Regions from separate parts of the Homo sapiens genome. Here region 1 is linked to region 2. Evidence: promoter capture Hi-C in 16 types of primary human blood cells and fetal thymus (Javierre and others, 2016). All regions are on one chromosome and are shown on one strand. Each heading gives the region's core, a stretch centred on a gene start or on the middle of the fragment in contact. The rest is flanking DNA. Distances are from core to core; before and after follow the strand shown.

Region 1 (3,413 bases), core at 572-3,071, 620 kb after region 2:
AGGTGAAACCCCATCTCTACTAAAAATACAAAAATTAGCCGGGCGTGGTGGCAGGCGCCTGTAGTCCCAGCTACTTGGGAGGCTGAGGCAGGAGAATGGCATGAACCGGGGAGGCGGAGCTTGCAGTGAGCCAAGATCACGCCACTGCAGTGCAGCCTGGGTGACATAGCGAGATTCCATCTCAAAAAAATAAAATAAATAAATAAATAAATACATAAATGAAATAATCTACACATTCTGCAATTATTCTTTATTCTGTTCAGTAATGGCAAATAATATTTTAAACTTGTTAATTATCAGTTACAAGATTCCATGATGAGATATGTTCTGTAATGTATTATATTATTAAGATTTCAACAATTATTTGACCTTAAACTGTTATCTTCTTTAATGAAAAGTATTCTCTTGAGTCTAGTTGCCATAAACTTTATTAAGCTGTCAATCAACTAATTCCAAATAGTTTATAATTTAGCAATTGCTATTCCCTAGCTGGCTAGACAGACACTGGAATATCTATTTTTTTTTTTTTTTTGAGACGAAGTGTCACGCTGTCGGCCAGGCTGGTGTGCAGTGGGGCAATCTTGGCTCGCTGCAGCCTCCATCTTCTGGATTCAAGCGATTCTCTGCCTCAGCCTCCCGAGTAGCTTGGACTACAGGTGCGCGCCACCATGCCCGGCTAATTTTTGTATTTTTAGTAGAGACGGGGTTTCACTATGTTGGCCAGGCTGGTCTCGAACTCCTGACCTCGTGATCCACCCACCTTGGCCTCCCAAAGTGCTGGGATTACAGGTGTGAGCCACTGTGCCCGGCCTGGAATATCTATTGTTAGTGAAGTCAGCGGTATGTTGTTTTTTTCCTTTGTGAATCTCTTTATTTTGACTCAATATTTTTTTATACAGGCAATTATAAACTAAATTCCAAAATAATGTAAGTTTTGGAGGTTTTTTTCCTGTAGGAAAAAAATTACATAAATCCACGGTAAATTCTCCAATTAATCTGGCTGAAGCTAATGCAGCTCACAGGGCACCTGAAATTGTTACTTTAGTATGTTGATTTCCAACTCAGGCTGCCAGAAGTACATATTTGAGTCCTAGCTACAGAATCTTCAGTTGACAGGAAGAGAAGAAAAAGAGAAAACCAAAAACCCTTAGGGATATCTTGCTCTCTAAGGCACTGAAATTAGTGAAGTGGGTATTGTTAGAGGGAAGCTGGTATTTTTTCTCTGGAGGTGAATTCTGCTCTGCAAATTGCTCCTGGAGACCTAGAGAAGGTAAAGGCAAATCTGATACAGTGTCTTCTGAGAGTGTTCTGTACTGGGAAGGAAAGATTGGAGGGAGGTTTTGGGATTGATTTTGCACATTTATTTGTACTGATGTTTTTCAGTTTTGTTTGCTTTTCTCCTTCCTTCCTTCCTTCCCTCCCTCCCTCCCTCTCTCCTTCCCTCCCTCCCTCTCTCCTTCCCTCCCTCCCTCTCTCCTTCCCTCCCTCCCTCCTTCCTGTTCTTTCTTTTTCTTCTTTTCTTTTTTTTTTACCAAATACCCAGACTTGGAGAATTTGTTTTATTTTCTAATTGTTTGTAAATCTGTATCCTCTAATACTGAATTTGTTTTTGAAAATGAGCTATTTTCTAAATCAGTGTGATACTTAGAGTTAAGTTTCCAGAATGGAATTATTGTGCAATAATTTAGTTATAAAATCATGATGGGAATACTGTGTCATTCTTGAATTTTTAAAATTAAGCTTTATTTATATTTGTTGTTTTGGCCCAAATGAAATTATGTCAATGTAACCTAAATTTATATTTGAAAATAACCACCATTTTACATGCATTAGTTGGAAGAAATATTTAAACCTCTCTTTTAAAGATTGTGAACATTTTGCTTACATAAACAAATTATGACTAAAGCTTATAACCATGCCAAATTGCTTTCTGTAGCACCCAGAAAACTTTTTTTTTTTTTTTTGAGAGAGGGTCTCACTCTGTTGCCCAGGCTGAAGTACAGTGGTGTGACCTCAGCTCACTGCAACCTCCGCCTCCTGGGTTCAAGAGATTCTCCTGCCTCAGCCTCCCAAGTAGCTGGGACTACAGACACATGCCACCATGAATGCCATGTTGGCCAGGCTGGTCTCGAACTTCTGACCTCAGGTGATCCACCTGCCTCAGCTTCCTAAAGTACTGAGATTACAGGCATGAGCCTTTGCGCCTGGCCTCACCCAAGAAGCATTTTATCATCTGTGTCAACTTCCTCCAGGGCCTGTGTGGGTAACTCTTACTTTGCCTGGCCATCCTACTTACTGCACTTAGAAAAAGTTTTGGATGATAATTGACTTTAAGCATATATAAATCAGAAACTTGATTTCATTTATCTTTGTGTCCCCAGTGTTGAACATTGTGCCTGACACATAGTAACTGCTTATTAAGCACTTATTGAATTATAAGTTGAATACGTTGGATTCATAGAGTTTATTGTTTGTCCTGAAGATGTAAAATTTTTAAAAATTCGATCCCCAGAGGGCGCTCCAGTGGCAGTTGGCTCTCCCATTTTAAGGACCAGAAGTGTTTGAATGTCTTCCTCTGATTTCTTTTTCTTTCTTCCTTTCCTTTTTTTTTTTTTTTTTTTTTTTTAAGACAGAGCCTTACTCTGTCGCCCAGACGGGAGTGCAGTGGCATGATCTCGGCTCACCGCAGCCTCCGCTTCCCGGGTTCAAGCGATTCTCCTCCCTCAGCCTCCTGAGTAGCTGCAATTACAGGCACCCACCACAACGCGTGGCTAATTTTTGTATTTTTAGTAGAGATGGGGTTTCACCATAATGGCCAGGCTGGTCTCAAACTCCTGACTTCAGGTGATCCGCCTGCCTCAGCCTCCCAAAGTGCTGGAATTACAAGCGTGAGCCACCGCATCCGGCTGCCCTCTTCCCTCCCCTCCCCTTCCCTTCCCTCCCCTCCCCTCCCCTCCCCTCCCCTTTCCCTTTCTTTCCTATTTATTTATTTATTTATTTGAGATGAGCTCTCCCTCTGTTGCCCAGGCTGCAGTGCAGTGGCACAATCGTGGCTCATTCTCACTGCAGCCTCCACCTCCCAGGCTCAACTGATCTTTCCACCTCAGCCTCCCAAGTTGCTAGGTCTACAGGTGCATGCCACCATGCCCAGCTAATTTTTTTTATTTTGTAGAAATGGGGTCTCCCCAGAGCAAGACTCCGTCTCAAAAAAAAAAAAAAGAGAAATGGGGTCTCCCTATGTTGCACAGGCTAGTCTCAAACTCCTGGATTCAAACGATCCTCCCACCTCAGTCTCCAAAGTGCTGGGATTGCATCGTAAGCCAGCGTACCCAGCCTGTCTTCCTCAGATTTCTCATGTAACACTTTTGTTTACTCTCAATGAATGAATCAATGATATGGTTGTGAAAATCTGC
Region 2 (3,019 bases), core at 77-2,576:
CAAGGCCTACACCCTTTTTTCTTCCTAAGGACTTCCTTTCTCCTTCCTGTCAATGTGGCCCCTTGGTAGTGCAAGGAGATGCCTTCTTCCCATTCCACCTTTCACCACTACTCACTTGGCAAAGCGAGAGCGATTTCCAACCACACCGAATTCCTCTTCCTCTTCGGAGCTGGACTCAGAGTCTGAGTCGGGAGGCTCAGTGCGAAGCAGGCGGTGACTGCTTGGGCCTTTCTTGGGCTTCTTTCTCCGGCTGTCCCCAGCCAAACCAATCAATGCATTGAGCTCTTTGCGCTTTTTCATCTTTTTGTGTGGGGTGAGTGGAGCCCCGACTCCTGAGCTGCCAGGTTCGTACCCGATGCCCAATTCTCTTCCTGCCTTGGAGCTGCCTTCCAGGGTTGGGAATCCTGGGCCAGAGCCCCCTGGTCACTCCCACCTAGGGGTGGGACTGACCAGATCCGCCAGGGACTGGAGATTGGAGCCCAGAGGAAACTGGAACTCAGATGGGTGGGGGAAATCACATAGAAATGGCCAAGGAGCTGGTGACCCCAAAGGATAAGGCCTTGGGTGCAGAGTGTTAGTAGAGGGTGGAGAGGGACCTTTATCTCCCAAAGGGCGAAAAAAAAGCCAGGTCAAAAATGAAGGATTCTCAGCCCGGATAAGTAGGCAATACTTCTAAGGGTGCTCCAGGAGGTGAGGAAGGGCACGCTTAAAATACGTGTTTCGGACCTCCGGAGCAAGATTTCCAATGGAGAGGGAAGAGAAACTCGTTCTTGAATGGGAAGAGAGTGGGGAGGTGCAGAGTAAGAAAGTGGGAACGCGTCAGTCCCTTCCTTGCAGGAGAGGTGGCGGCAGGAGGGGGCTCCCAGCAGCTACAATCCCAACACTGCTTGGCCGCAGAGAAAATGCCCTGGCCAGGAAGCCGGCTGGGGTGTGTGATGATCACCGTTCTCCGGCCTCCGTCCTGAACGTGAAGGGGGCCCGAGGCCGAGGAAGATCCGGAGCCCGGCTAGAAGGGTCGGCCTGAGAGAAGCCAGTCCCGCGCCTGATAGACCCCCGCCCCGCTGTCTGGGCCTTGGGGACACGGTGCCGCGGGCGACGGCGGCTCGGCCGACCGAAAGCGCTCCCGCCCGGAGTTTGAGGTCTCCGGCACGGGCAACTCTCGGCCACTCACACGCGCAGGCCCCACTCCAGCCGCGACTCCGGCCCCTGCTCCGGCTTCGGCCGCGGCTGCTCCCGACACGTTGTTGTTGGCGTTGGTGGCGGCGGCTGCGGCGGCGGCGGCCGCGAGCTCCAGCCCCGGGCCATCGCTCCAGCCCCAGATCACTTCCCCTTTGGCAGCGGCCGCCTGCGCCGCCTGCCAGTAAGCCGCACTCCCATTGGTCGCCCGCTGGGGTGACGTCACGCCGGGGCGAAAGTCGTGGCGGAGAGGTGGGGCGTTAAAGGGGCCCTGCCCCGGCTGGGGCTGGGTCCCACCTGCCGATTAGGGTGGCCCCGCCCCCAGGAGGGCTTCCGGGACCTGCTGCGAACCTGAGCCGGGTGGAGTCCTGCATCCTGCGGAGCGCGGGCGGGGCAGGCAAAGCGCCCGGCTGCTCGACCTACTTCGAAAGTTCATCAGCCGCCCACGCCCCCTGGACTAACCAAGTCTGAAGGCTCCGCCTCTCTGACTCTCACACAGGCTGTTAAAAGTTTAGGCGCGTTTCAGATTAATTAACACATTCATTCAGTCAATAAATATTTATTGAGAGCTTACTTACTACGTGTCAGGAGCTGTTCTAGCGCTGGGGATACAGCCATGAACAAAATAACCAGGGTCCTTGTCTTCCTGTATAGTGTTGCCAGATTTAGCAAATAAAAATGTAGGACACCCAGTAAAGTTTGAATTTCAGAGAAACAGCAAACAATTTTTTAGCATTAAGACATCCCATGCAACATCTGGGACATCCTCACACTAAAAAATTATTCATTGTGTATGTGAAATGCAAGTTTAACTGAGCATCGTGTATCTTATCTGCCAATCTATTCCTGCAGTTTATTTATACTCTAGAGGGAGGAGAGCAACAATAGGCAAACATATTAAATGTCAGGAGGTGATAAGTGTTATGATGAAAATTGAAACACGGTCAGGTGATGGGGAGTGCCTCTGTGAAAAGGGAACATTTAGTCAGCTTATCGGAGGAGAGGTGAGGGAATGAGCTGTGCAGTGGCTGCAGGAAGGAGTGACCAGGAAGACCTGTTGTGGCTGGACCAGAAGAGCAAGGAGCAGAGTGATAGGAAATGAGGTCAGAGAAGCATCAGAGGCCAGGGCTTTAGGGCCTTATGGATCACTGAAAGGACTTTGGGAAAGCACTGGGGGCTTTAAGCTGAGAGGTAGCATACTCTGGCTTTTCCGTAAAAAAAAAAAAAAAAAAAAAAATTCACTCTGGGCCAGCGCGATGGCTCACGCCTGTAATCCCAGCATTTTGGGAGGCTGAGGTGGGCGGATCACAAGGTCAGGAGATGGAGACCATCCTGGCCAATATGGTGAAACCTTGTCTCTATTAAAAATACAAAAATTACCTGGGCGTGGTGGTGCGCGCTTGTAATCCCAGCTACTTGGGAGGCTGAGGCAAGAGAATGGCTTGAAACCGGGAGGCGGAGGTTGCAACAAGCCGAGATTGCACCACTGCACTTCAGTCTGGCAACAGAGCGAGACTCCGTCTCAAAAATAAATAAATAAATAAATAAATAAATAAATAAATAAATAAATAAATAAATAAAATAAAATAAAATAAAGGAAAAAATTACTCTGGCTACTTTGTAGAAAAAAGTGGGGGGAGAGTGAGGAACACAGGAGAGCAGTTTGTTACAGTCCAGCTAGAGATGATGCTGATAGATTAGAGAGGCAGTAGCAGAGATGGAGAGCATTCTGGATGTTTCTTGAAGACAGAGCTGACAATTTTTGCTGATAGATTAGATGAAAGGTGTGAAGAGAAGAGAGGGTTTGGCGGTGGAAACACTGGAAGCAAGGAATTGTTATTTA

The links. The method cuts DNA at HindIII sites, captures the fragments that hold promoters and counts their contacts. A CHiCAGO score of 5 or more calls a contact.
Region 1: a contact is called between a fragment that was not itself captured here and the fragment with the promoter of EFCAB14 in region 2, in 1 of 17 cell types (erythroblasts). The highest score is 6.2, in erythroblasts.

What each region holds. Positions count from the first base shown.
Region 1 is chr1:47,337,100-47,340,512 of GRCh38, forward strand. All of the region lies in intron 1 of CMPK1 (cytidine/uridine monophosphate kinase 1), which reads left to right. Among named protein-coding and RNA genes, the nearest start is that of CMPK1, 5.0 kb to the left of the region's middle. The HindIII fragment of the contact is 166 bases long and covers 1,739-1,904 here.
Region 2 is chr1:46,717,788-46,720,806 of GRCh38, forward strand. EFCAB14 (EF-hand calcium binding domain 14) reads right to left here and starts at 1,327. Exons shown (of 11, transcript NM_014774.3): 1 at 116-1,327. The coding sequence starts at 300. RefSeq lists silencers at 1,132-1,181, 1,502-1,551. The HindIII fragment of the contact is 11,051 bases long and covers 1-3,019 here.